Regions from separate parts of the Homo sapiens genome. Here regions 2 and 3 are each linked to region 1. Evidence: promoter capture Hi-C in 16 types of primary human blood cells and fetal thymus (Javierre and others, 2016). All regions are on one chromosome and are shown on one strand. Each heading gives the region's core, a stretch centred on a gene start or on the middle of the fragment in contact. The rest is flanking DNA. Distances are from core to core; before and after follow the strand shown. Region 1 holds the start of ZNF609 (zinc finger protein 609). Region 2 overlaps ZNF609 (zinc finger protein 609). Region 3 overlaps ZNF609 (zinc finger protein 609).

The links. The method cuts DNA at HindIII sites, captures the fragments that hold promoters and counts their contacts. A CHiCAGO score of 5 or more calls a contact.
Region 2: a contact is called between a fragment that was not itself captured here and the fragment with the promoter of ZNF609 in region 1, in 13 of 17 cell types (naive CD4 T cells, M2 macrophages, non-activated CD4 T cells and 10 more). The highest score is 12.7, in naive CD4 T cells.
Region 3: a fragment that was not itself captured here is called in contact with the fragment with the promoter of ZNF609 in region 1 in 5 of 17 cell types (M1 macrophages, M2 macrophages, endothelial precursors and 2 more); the score reaches 6.5 in M1 macrophages.

Annotation. Positions count from the first base shown.
Region 1 is chr15:64,458,803-64,463,221 of GRCh38, forward strand. It overlaps ZNF609 (zinc finger protein 609), which reads left to right and starts at 1,776. Exons shown (of 10, transcript NM_015042.2): 1 at 1,776-2,036. It overlaps LOC105370861 (a long non-coding RNA gene), which reads right to left and starts at 1,785. Exons shown (of 3, transcript XR_932367.3): 1 at 1,697-1,785. RefSeq lists an enhancer at 1,298-1,367 and silencers at 1,828-1,947, 2,008-2,107. The HindIII fragment of the contact is 12,937 bases long and covers 1-4,419 here.
Region 2 is chr15:64,645,335-64,649,751 of GRCh38, forward strand. All of the region lies in intron 3 of ZNF609 (zinc finger protein 609), which reads left to right. Among named protein-coding and RNA genes, the nearest start is that of OAZ2, 56 kb to the right of the region's middle. The HindIII fragment of the contact is 5,059 bases long and covers 1-3,846 here.
Region 3 is chr15:64,661,427-64,665,776 of GRCh38, forward strand. All of the region lies in intron 3 of ZNF609 (zinc finger protein 609), which reads left to right. Among named protein-coding and RNA genes, the nearest start is that of OAZ2, 40 kb to the right of the region's middle. The HindIII fragment of the contact is 7,407 bases long and covers 1-4,350 here.

The DNA.
Region 1 (4,419 bases), core at 526-3,025:
TTTGTATTTTTACGGGGTTTCTCCATGTTGGTCAGCCTGGTCTCGAATTCCCGACCTCACGTGATCCGCCCGCCTCAGCCTCCCAAAGTGCTGAGATTACAGGCGTGAGCCACCGCACCTGGCCTGAAATTTGAATTTCATATCATTTTCACATCATGAAATAGTATTTTGATTATTTAACTGTTTAAAAATGTAAAAATCATTCTAGCTCATGGGACATGTTAAAACAGGTGGTGAGCCTGATTTGACCTGTGAGATGCAGTTTGCCAACCCTTGGTCTAGAGGAACAGTAAATCAAAACTTAAGGTTTGTTTACTATGTGGGACATCTGATCACTTGAAAATTTTTAGTGGTTCTTCGAGGCTTGAGAACTTTCTCTGGCTGAAACTTGGAGTTCACTGCAGGAATGTTTACCTTCCTTTGTTCCCTATTTTTGCAGTCTAGTTCTCTCCAATGGCAGAGTCATGCTCCTTCAGTGGGAGATGACTACTGGAATGTTTAATCCTTAATTAAATCATGCCTAAGTCTAAAACACTAAACCCTTCTCTGTCTCCACCTGCTAAGTAGCTGAATCCTCACTTGTAACTTTGTCTAGTATACATTGGAAGTTCGCTGTCACCTGGGATCAGTTCTGCCCCTGTACTGTCTAACAACATGACTATTGGTGGACCAAAGAGAGATTATTTTTCCTAGACCAGAAAGGTTTACTTTTATCTTTAGCTATCAACCCCTCCCCCCACCTTTTTATGACCTCACTTTATCTCCAAGTCACATGCTATCTTGAGTGGCACTGTTGAAGGATGCCCCAGGATAAGGGAAAAAAGGTAAGATAAATGCAAAGCAAAATAAAATGGTCAAGGACACAGGAAGGACATAATAGGGGCTAGGATGTGGGAGGCCTTGAGAATTAAGGTAAATTTGTTTGCTATGGAATGAGATGGAAGTCTTAGGAGGTCGTCATGAATAGATGTTTCACAAGTGAAAGCTGGGTGGGAGGGCTCACTTAAACATGGACTGAATGCCTACTGTGCACTAGATAGTATGCTGGGCAATCAGAGATGAATAGCAGATAAGGAAAAATAAAAGCTACAATCCTTAGAATGGTGGGTTGGAGAAGGACAGAATAAGGTTTTTAGATAATAAAAGGCAACAAGATTTAGTGATAGAGGATGGTGAGGGGAAAAGGGATATATAGAGGGATTAGAAATGGGTGCTTTGGGGAGAAAAGCAAGTGGTAATCCTAAAAGAGAAAGCTGGAGAACAAAGGATAAAAAATTAGGAGGTTGGTACTTTGCTGAACTAAGGGGTAAAATGGATGAAACCATCAGGAGCTGTGATTGCTCTTCTGTTCTTTGTGGATGCCCATGTTCAGATCCCCTACGGCCCTTTCCTCTCTGTGGTTGAAGGACAACTACAGAAGAGGTGTCTTCTGTGTTATAAGGTGCAATACTCCCCCCAGAGACCTCTCTATGAGGAAGTCTGATCCAGCGAGAGTTCTACTGCCCACGAGGGGACAGCGTTAGGTTCGAGCTCTCTAATCCAGGTTTCTTTGAGTTTATCTTGGTTCTAACCGGCACGCCGGGTTTTCCAGCATTCCCTGAGCTAAGACTCCCTAATCTGGGCTCCGGGTGAGCGCGCATTCCGAGACCCAGGATTTCGCTCCTTCATCCAGGTTCCGGGTTTCCCCTGCGCTCACCGGCTCCAGACTCCACACAAGCGCGGAATCCGGATCCGAGGGCCTGGCAGTCCAGTGTCCGCGTCTTCCGGGTGACTCTGGTTGTCCCGGATCGCGGCGGCGGCGGCGGTGGCGGCGGCTGAGGGACCCGCGGCCCCGGACACAGCGGCACCGGCCGGGCGGGGCGGAGAGGCGCGGGGAGGGGGCAGAGAGCCAGAGCCGGAGCCGGAGCCGGAGCCGGGGTGGGGTGGGGGGGAGGGGCCGCGGGAACGGATGGCGGCCTGGGCCCCGTAGCAGCGGCGGCTCTACGGCCCGGGGCCCCGGGCGGGCGGAGGTGGCGGCTCCCGGGACCGGCCGCGCGGTGAGTCCGGAGCTTTGTGTGGAGCCGGGACTGGGGGAGGAAAGAGGCGGCGGCACCGATGGGGCGCGGGGCTGAGGGGATCTGATGGGGGCCGGGGGCGGCGGCGCTGCCTGACGGAGGAAGTGGGGGTTGGGGGGGCTGGGGCGGAGCGAGGGGAAGGTGTGTAGGGGGGGTCGTTGCGTGGGTGGGGGAGGGGGCGTCGAGGGGCGCGGGGTGAAGTTCAAAGCGTGGCCACGGCCGGTTCAGGCTGAGGGTAGGGGTGCCCGGGAGGGGATTAGGGTCTGGCTAGGTTATGGGAGCAGGCCAGAGAGTTTCTGAGGCGAGTCTGGGTATGTTGAGGGCGCTCGGGGCGACTGGGGCCAGTCAGGGAGTTGGCGGGGGAGGGGGGGCGGGGGCGGTGGTGGTTGTTCAGAGCATAGGGTCGGAAGCAGGACGTGTGCGTGACCTAGGAGTGGGGAGCAAGGTGGCTGGGATCCTGCAGTAAGTAGGTTGTGGGTGTGTGCCCCTAACAGTCTTCAGGTCACATTTACTCCTGTCCTTTTCTTCAAGATGGAGGGATCCCTGGGCCTGGACCTCAACTGCTATCCTTGTACCCCCGGGAGGGTTTGTGACCCTATCCTGTTTGGAAAACCCATGCTGCCCTCTTTTCCCTTTATGTGTAATTACGGTTGGATCATCTCTGTGCTTTGCTCAGATTCTCCTTCCTCCCTCTGGGGTTGAGGAGGAGGAGACACATCTGACCAATTAATGTGTGTTTGTGAAACAGGCAGCAGCAAACAGTCATTTCAGCTTCGAGGAATTAGGCTCACACAGGGTGGAGAGATCAGAGCCCTTCAGGGGGAATATTTCTGAACAAATCACGGATGATTAAATTCTCTAAGAAACAGCTCCCTACCTAAATGAGAGTGAGAAAGATAGGGAAGAAAGCCTGTCTGTTTCCAGCCATGTGTCCAGAGCCTAAGGGGTTGAGGAGAGTCCCCAAGCCCCTACAGGCCTCCCTTTTCTGTATTAGGCTTTGCTCTGCAGCCTTGAGTTAATTTCACCCCTGCTGCTTTGTCTTGGGGGAGGGAGTGCTGGTTTAGGCTGTTGTGAGGAGATGACTGTTCTGCTGCCACACACAATAGTCGTGTCATTTTATCGGGAGCGCTACCCCAGGGCTGAGAACTGCTGCAGCAGAGATAAACCGGTCCCTCTCACCCGCCTATTGTGTACACAGTGAAGGTCATAGGTTCAAGTCTTGTCTGAGAGCTTTGGATATGCTCCATCTCCCAGGCTCCTCAGTGCCATTTTCTTCCTTTTCCAGACTGGGGCTTGCCATTGGAGGAGGCCAGAGAGAAAGGCTCTTCTTTTTGAGTGAGGAACAATGCAGAGCTCATTGGCACACATTTTTCAGAAGAATAAGGGATGCCAGCCATGTTGTGCCTGCCTCTTTGGCTAGCCTGTACTAAGTTGTGAAGGAATAGTGTCTGGTAGACTCAACTACGATGTTTGTTTCAGACCCTTAAGGAAGAAGACTTCAAGGGAAGGTTCTACTCTTAGTTGAATCATCATATTTAATTCTTTTATATGAATGGAACACTCATGCAGTGATTTTTGTTTGTTTCCGAATACCACTAAAAACCTGTGCAGTGTTAAGATGGGGAGTCAAGCCCAGGTGTGGTGGCTCATGCTTGTAATCTTGGCACTTTGGGAGAATGAAGCCAGAGGATGGCTGGAGCCCAGGAGTTTAAGACCAGCCTGGGCAACAAAGCAAGACCCTGTTTCTTTAAAAATAAAAAATAAAAAAGTCAAGAACCAAGTACCTTTTTAATGGTGGCTTCCTGGTCAATAATAATAGCACAACAAAAAAGCCACAGAATTTGCCTATCTGGGCAAGGGCTGTGGGAACAAACCTTTCAATATTTATTTTAACTCTAATGAAAGGACATGAGTTGCTCATTGTGCAAAAGTCTATATCTGCCTCTGTATTAAGAAATTTGCCAAAGAAATAAACATTTTTGAAAAAATGTATGGGTCTTAGGGATTATTAGTGAGAGAAGGATGAGAACAAACTAGAAGGAATCCTATTGTACATATCTGATAGAAGTGCTCAAATAATATTTATGTACTATTAGTTGTGTAAAAAATTATTTGGGACCAGGCATGGTGCTCACACCTGTAATCCCAGCACTTTGGGAGGCTGAGGCAGGAGGATCACTTGAGCCTAGGAGTTTGAGAGTGGCCTGGGCAACATAGTGAGAACTCATCTCTACAAAAATTTAAAAAAATACAGCTAGCTGGGCATAGTGGCACATGCCAGTGGTCCCAGCTACTCAGGAGGCTGAGGTGGGAAGATCGCTTGAGTTCAGGAGTTCGAGACCAGCTTGGGCAACATGGCAAAACC
Region 2 (4,417 bases), core at 67-2,566, 190 kb after region 1:
CCTACCACAGCCTCCCAAAATGCTGGGATTACAGGCATGAGCCATTGCACTCGGCGTCCTACATTTTCTGCCCCACAACTAGCAACTGTTTTTTCCTCTGATTTTTTTTTTTAATTTTTGAAATTATTTTATTATTTCAAAAGTAATGCCTGATTTTTTAGCTATGACACCAAAAGCACAAGCCAGCAAAAGAAAAATTAGATAAATTGGATTTCATCAAAACTAATAACTTTTGTTTATCAAAGGATACTACCAAGAGAATAAAGATAGAATGAGAGAAAATATTTGCAAATCGTGTATCTGATAAGTGATTAATATCTAGAATAAAGAACTCCTACAGATCAACAATGAAAAACCCAAACAACCTAATTCAAAAATGCGCGTAAGACTTGAATAGACATTTTGCCAAAGAAGATATCTAAATGACCAATAATCACATGAAAAGATGCTCAGAATCATTAATTATAAGAGAAATGAACATAAAAACCATGATGAATTACCACTTCATACCTACTAGGATGGTTGTTATCAAAAATGTGGAAAATAAAAAGTGTTCAAGAGGATGTGGAGAAATTGGAACCCTTGAGAACTGTTGGTTGGAACATAAAATGAGTACAAGCCATTGTGGAAAACAGTTTGGTGGATCCTCAAAAAGCTAAACAGAATTAACATATGATCCAGCAATTCTACTCCTAGGTATATACTTAAAAGAATGGAAAACAGATGTTCACACAAAAACTTGTATGTGAATATATGACAGTATTATTCACAATATTCAGAAGGTAGAAATAACCCAAGTGTCCATCAACAGATGAATGGATAAACAATGTGGTATAGCCATACAATGGAATATTATTCAGCAAACAAAAAGAAATGAAAGCTGGTACAGTGACTCATGCCTCTAATCCCAGCACTTTGGGAGGCTGAGATGGGAGGATCACTTGAGCCCAGGAATTCAAGACCAGCCTGGGCAACATAGCAAGACTGCATCTCTAGAAAAAAATACAAAATGGCGGCCAGGCATGGTGGCTTATGTCTGTAATCCTAGCACTTTGGGAGGCCGAGGTGGGTGGATCAGCAGAGGTCAGGAGTTCGAGACCAGCCTAGCCAACATGGCAAAACCCCATCTCTACTAAAAATACAAAAAAAATTAGCCAAGTTTGGTGGCACACACCTGTAACCCTAGCTACACGGGAGGCTGAGGAAGGAGAATCGCTTGAACCTGGGAGGTAGAGGTTGCAGTGAGCCAAGATCGTGCCACTGCACTCCAGCCTGCACAATGGAAACAAGACTCCATCTCAAAAAAAAAAAAAAAAAAAAAAAACTGGGCACGGTGGCTCACGCCTGTAATCCTAGCACTTTGGGAGGCCAAGACGGGCGGATCACTTGAGGTCAGGAGTTCGAGACCAGCCTGGCCAACATGGTGAAACCCCATCTCTACTAAAAATACAAAAAATTAGCTGGGCATGGTGGCGCATGCCTGTAGTACCAGCTACTCGGGAGGCTGAGGCAGGAGAATCGCTTGAACCTGGGAGGCAGAGGTTGCAGTGAGCCGAGATCATGCCATGGCACTTCAGCCTGGATGACAGAGGGAGACTCTGTCTCAAAAAAAAAAAAAAAAAAAAAAATCAACCTGGTATGGTAACACGTGCAGTGATAAACTCATTATCACTGTATAGGATGTTGTCAGTTAGGCTTACTTAGTACTCCCAGCTACTCAGGAGGCTGAGGCAGGTGGATTGCTTGAGCTGTGATCACACCACTGCCATCCAGCCTGGGGGACAGAGTGAGACCCTGTCTCCAAAAAAAAAAAAATGAAGTTCTGATTCTACAATGTGGATGAACCTTGAAAATACATGTTAAGTGAAATAAGCCAGTCACGAAAGGACAAATATTGTATTTTTTCCACTTAGGTATCTAGAATGGATACATTTATATAGACAGAAAGAATATTAAGGGCCGTGGGGAGCATAGGGAATGGAGAATTATTGCTTAATGGCTACAAAGTTTCTATTTCAGGTGATGAAAAAGTTTTAGATATTGTGATGGTTCAAAAGGAAAAAGTAACAATTTTTATTGTTGAACATTTAGGAGACAAAGTCAAAATTCACCAAGAGGAAAAGAATAAATTACCCAGAGATAACCAATGTTTGAATTTTTATATTATATATTTTTGTTGCTTCTTTTATTTTATATTTTTAACAAATTGAGACCCTTCTCTATATATTTCGTAATCTTCTTTGTTTAGAGAAATATATTCCTGTAACATATTTCCATAACATTAAATGACCTTCTATAACATTTTAAATAACTACAGAGTATTCCATGTTAAGGATGTATCATAATGGACTTAGTCATTATATCTTTTATATGGTTTAAAAAAAGATACTTCTTAAATTTTCTAGCTCTTCAAGAGCTGAGCTTCATTTTTTACATCATCAATAAAGTACCTCACATACCAAGGAGACACATTATGTGTTTCATAATAATAACCTTGCAGCTTTGGACTTTTCGGTTTTTGTCCAAACTCCCTTTTCTCTTTTTATCCTCTTGCTGCATTTTGCCTACTTGGACATTTTCTTTTTGCTTCTTCCACCTGTTCTGTGTGTCTTTCACTTTGCCACCAGTATGTAGCTTTATTGCTGCATCTGTTTCTTTTCTGGTAGAAATAGGTCAAACGTAAAATCAATAACCTGCTTCTCAGCCCAAAATAAACCTACAGGTGTTGATGTCTTTTGCTTTAGTCCACAGTTTTATTCTCAAGTGCAGTGCGTAAACCATTTAGTGTTTTACACCGAAAATACGAGCTCCTGAGAACCAAGAAAGTGTAATCTTATCTTGTGAGGCAGCGTAGTTAAAAATACGTATAAGGCCATGCAGTATGGTTTACACCTGTAATCTCAATACTTTGGGAGGCCAGACAGGAGGATCGCTTGAGCCCATAAGTTTGAGACCAGACTGGGCAACATAGCAAAACCTTGTCTCTACTGAAAACTTAAAAATAAAAATTAGCCAGGCATGGTGTCATACACCTGTAGTCCCAGCTATTTGGGAGGCTGAGGTGGGAGGACTTCTTGAGGCCAGAAGTTTGAGGTTGCAGTGAGTTATGATCATGCCACCGCACTCCAGCCTGGGCGACAGAGTGAGACTTAACCTCAAACAAAACAAACCATACAGGCTTTAGTTGAGAGTCATATTGATTGGGATTCAGATCCTAGCTTTTGCATCTTATTTAGCTATATAACATTGGAACAGATTGCTCTGAGTTTCCAGTTCCTCGTCTGTAAAATGGGAATGATTATACATTGGAGGTTGGTGAGAGAATTAAATATGAGATAATATATAGAAGATGTTAAAGCACAATAAGTTGTATGCATTATTGGAAATACTGTCTGACCACCACCACATACCAAAAAAAAAAAAAAAAAAAAAAATTAGGGAAAGCAACCAAATATGTAACCCGTTGTATCTGGGACTAAGCATCCTTTCTGTATCATTAGGACTTGGGAAACTTCTTCCACAATTTTAGTGGGATTATATTGGAGTCTGAATCTTACTTTAGTGGCCAGATTCAGTGTGTAGTAACAGTTAAGGTCTAGGATGCTTCTAATTGTTCATTTCATAGGTGGAAAAGGAAGATGGATACTTACTGCAAAGTATACAGCAAATTTTGTCTGGGAGCAAGACATACATAAGAGAAAGAATTTGAAATGACTCCAGCTTTGGTTGGGCAAATTCTGACAATTATTTTTAAATGTAAGCCCAATGAAGTCAAATATCTATAGTGACTGTTATCTCCAGATGAATTTTGAGAAAAAAAAAATAGAATTGTTATAAATTAAATGAAGCTTCAGAAAGATAGGACTCAATTTAGTCATATTGGTGGTTTTTTAAAAAATTCTAAATCTTTACATTGTATTTTAATGCCATAAACTCATTATCACTGTATAGGATGTTGTCAGTTAGGCTTACTAACGCTCCTTTTCCACCCCCCAACACACACAAATCATATATCTGATTTAAATCAGAACTCTGTCTCACACATACACACACACTCTCACACTCTCTCTCACACACACATGCACACACCCATGCTGCTGGAAATTTGGGGAATCACACTGAGTTGAGAATCAGAAAGTAACTGAGATTCTTATCTTTGGAAGGAAAGGTAAGTAAGTAGCTGAGGAGTTCCTATTCTTCTGTCAGCTCATCAGCCAGAGATGAGATCTGGTGCCACTCCAAACCCTGCCTGATGGGTTAAACCAGTATTAGGGTTATTTATTCTGTTCAGTACTTACTGAGTACCTGCTAAGTATTTAGGGAGAGAAAAGAAAAGTGTATAGACGATGTTATCTCTTCTAATAAAGCATCATTTTTGCGGGGGAGGGGTTGCTTTTTATTTTGTACATGAATACAT
Region 3 (4,350 bases), core at 1,576-4,075, 200 kb after region 1:
TGAATGAAAGCATGTATGTGTGCTAATCTGTACTTTACCCTGGTTAGTTAGGGTGTATTTGTATCCAGTTAGGGTATAGTTGTCAACATCAATCAGGATTGAAAATTGGGATTAAAATAAGATTTAAAAGCAGCATATAGGCAAATGCTGATGTTTCCATTTGGAAACTCAATGCTACTGGAATATTCAGGTACACTTCATCTCTTCCCCTTTCTCTTTTGTTGTCTCTTATGCTGAGGGCAAGCATCTGGCCTTATTTATCCTTATTCTCTAGTACTTAGTCCAGCACATTCCATAAAGTTGGCTCTTAATAAACATTTGCTGCCAACCCAGGAGTGGACCTCAGCATTTCTTCACTGTTTTTGTAACTTCAATACTTCACAGAATGCTTGGCAAATAATAGATGCTCAATAAATATTCGTTCAAGGTAGGAATGAATTATTTGTCTACCTAGGGTAGACATTATTCCAGGTTATCTGTTATGTAACAAATTAACCTAAAACATAGTTGTCTAAAACAATAAATATTATCTCACAGAGTTTCTGTGGCTCAGGAATTCAGGAGTAGCTTAACTGGGTGGTCTGACTCAGGGTCTCTCATGAGGTTGTAGTCAGTTGTTGACTGGGGCTGCCATCATCTGAAAGCATATCTGGGGCTGGAGGATCCTCTTCCAAGTTGCTTCACTACATGACTATTGGCAGAGGGCTTCAGTTGCTGGCCTCGTGGACTTCTCCATAGGGCTGCTTAAGTGTTCTCACAAAATGGCTGCTGTCATCCCTAAGGGAAGAAATCCCAGAGAGAAAGCAAGGAGGAACCCCCAATAATACCTTTTATCACCTTGTCTCAAAAGTCATGCACCATCACTTCTGCAAGTTGCTAAAGGCAGCTCACACTCCAGGGGATGAGAATTAGGCCCCATCTTTTTTTTTTCCTCTGTGAATTAGGCTGGAGTGCAGGGGCAACATCTCAACTCATTACAGCCTAGATCTCCCGGGCTCAAGTGATCCCCCCATGTCAGCCTCCATAGTAGTTGGCACTACAGGCACATGCCAACAAGCCCAGATAATTTAAAGAATTTTTTAGAGACAGGGTCTCACTACATTGCCCAGGCTAGTTTCGAATTCCTATGCTCAAGCAATCCTCCCACCTTGGCCTCCCAAAATGCTGAGATTACAGGCATGAGCCACCATGCTTGGCCATGAAGCATTTTTAAAACATTGAGATATTTCTACTAAAACTAATAATTTTTTTTTTCTTGAGACAGGGTCTCTTTCTGTTGCCCAGACGGGAGTGCAGTGGCGCGATCTCGGATCACCACAACCTCTGCCTCCCAGGCTCACGCGATTCTCTTGCCTCAGCCTCCTCAGGAGCTGGGATTACAGGCACGCGCCACTACTGCCCGGCTAATTTTTGTATTTTTAGTAAAGATGGGGTTTCACCATGTTGACCAGGCTGGTCTTGAACTCCGGACCTAAGATGATCCACCTGCCTCGGCCTCCCAAATTGCTGAGATTACAGGCATGAGCCACCGTGCTTGGCTAACTAATAACTATTTTTATGTGTTTTTTTGGGAATAGGTGATACATACAGATGTATGTATCACCTATACCTGTATGTATGAGTTCAAAAGCTAAAAGGTTTTATACAGAGAAATGATAGGATATGAGAGGTTTTATTTAACAGGATCTCTCTGGTCTCTGTGTTGAGAACAGGTCAGAAAGTGATAAAGATGGAAGCAAGTTAGGAAGCTATTGCAATAATTTAAGGAGTGCTTGGAGCAGTAGAAGTGGAGGTAATGAGAAATGATCAAAATCTGGATATATTTTGAAGGTTGAGCCAAAAAGATTTGCTGATGGTCAGGTGTGGGGACATGGATAGTAGGAGAGGAACCAAGTAAAACTCTAAGGGTTTTGACCTGAACACCTAGAAGGATGTACACATGCCATTACCTCAGATAGGGAGAATTCAGAGCAAGTTGTTTTTGTTGTTCTTGGAGGAGAGGGTTGTTAAGGAGAGGATGGGTATCAGGAGCTCAGTTTGGAACATATTAAGTTTGAGATCTCCATTTAGACGTCCAATGGAAATGTCAAGTTTGTGATTAGATACATGAATCTGGAGTTTAGGGGAGAGGTTGGGGCTAGGGATAGAAGTTTGAGTCATCAGCTACACATGAAGTACCAGCAAAAGATGCTGAGGAATGACCAGAGAGATAGGAGGAAAACCAGGAGAGTATGGTGTTCTGGAAGCCAAGTGAAGGAAGCGTTTCAAGAAGGGAATTGGTCTGAGCATGAAGGAGCTGAGCATGAAGGTACCAGATCCCTGAGAGAAAGTATGTACTAATGGAAATAGTAAAAATGAGGGGCCTAGAAAAAAATCTCTCTCTCTCTTTCTACTATTATACTTGGATCAGCCTTGACTACACAAATGTTTTGAGGTTTTGAATTATTATCTGAAACAAAGCAGTGCTGCTTTGGGATTGAGTTTGTCTCAGCATTTCACTCCTAAGAACTGTGGGAACCTGGCCAGTCGTGGTGGCTCATGCCTGTAATCCCAGCACTTTGGGAGCCCGAGGCAGGTGGATCACCTGAGGCAGGACTTCGAGACCAGCCTGACCAACATGGTGAAACAGTATCTCTACTAATAATACAAAAATTAACGAGGTGTGGTGGTGCACACCTGTAATCCCAGCTGCTTGGGAGGCTGAGGCAGGAGTATTGCTTGAGCCTGGGAGGCAGAGGCTGGAGTGAGCCGAGATTGCACCACTGCACTCCAGCCTGGGTGACACAGTGAGTCTCTGTCTCAAAAATAATAATAATAATAACTAGGGGAACCTGACTAGTGCCTCATACATGTCATCATTTTCCCTTTACTCTGCTCCAATATTTATCACCTTGAAGAAGGGAGAATAGTGAGTACTCTAAAACTTAATAATGGGTACTTAGATTATGTCCATAAGACTTGGTAAATCTGAAAGTAAGATTCTAGAGAAACACGGAGCACTATTTATTACTGCTGTTTTTTAGCAGTATTATCCTCAAACATGCTGAGCCTTTCCTTATTTTGTGAACACTTATGAAAAATAGTAAGTTTTCCAAGATGAAGACCAGTTTTTCTTTCTCTTCAGCCTACTTGCTTCTCTAAAGCTAGCCCCTAATAGAGAAACTTGGTCTGTTAAGTGTTATTTGCTGCTTTTCTTTCCTGTCGTCCTATTCTCCAGCTGTCTCAACTCGGAACCTTGCAGGAAGACTATTAAACCTCATCAATGTGTGTTTCCTTTGACATTTAAACAAGCCTCCATTTTGTCTTTCCATATCATAATTTTTTCTCTTCCCTTCTCCCATTTCCAGCACCTTGTTTGACCTGTCTTCTCTTCAGCTCATTCATTATTGCTAAAGTTTGCAGATTATACCAAAGGAAGAAGCCTGATTTATAAACATGTGTTCCCACCCAGCTGTTTCAAGAATAGTAATGAGATTCATCTTCTAGTTGTGTGCCTGCTCTCTGTGTACAGCTGTGCTCATCTGCCCTTATAAATGAGATGCCTATCTCTAAGTCTTACCTTCTCTATAAATGGACTCTGTTCCTATTAAATTGATTATGCAGTAATCAGAGCAGGCCACCTTTTGGGGGAGACATCCATTTGAAATCACTTTGCTAATAGCTAGAGAGAATTTAGCCTAATTACTTCTTTAGGAGAGATGCCATTTCCCTTAAGATGCCAGGGCACTGCAAAGGGATAGGATTCCTATCCTTTTCCCCTCTGGATGACCCCCTGCAATCCTGTATGTGTATGTGTCTTTTATCTAAGGTGAAGGTAACAGGATATTCTAAGAAAATTGTGTGAAAACAATCAGAATCCATTAGAGATAGCTGTGTCAGGCCTTAGAGTCTGAAAGATCTGACCACTAATAGTGAACCCTTGAGTAAATGATTTATCCTTTCTGGTGTATCATTTCCTCCTTTGCAAAGTAGCCTTAACAATCCTTATATGACAGGATTTTTGGCACCCACTTATGGCCTGCCTTCCTCAAAAAGTGATTTAAGACCAGGTGCCGTGGCTCATGCCTGTAATCCCAGCTCTTTAGGAAACCAAGGCAGGAGGATCACTTGAGACCAGGAGTTGAAACCAGCCTGGGTAACATAGTGAGACTCTGTCTCTATTTTTAAACAAACAGAAAAAATTATAAAAAGTAAACAAATGGGCCGGGCCCGGTGGCGCATGCCTGTAATCCCAGCACTTTGGAAGGCCGAGGCAGGCAGATCACCTGAGGTCAGGAGTTTGAGACCAGCCTCAACATGGAGAAACCCCATATCTACTAAAAATATAAAATTAGCTGGGCGTGGTGGTAC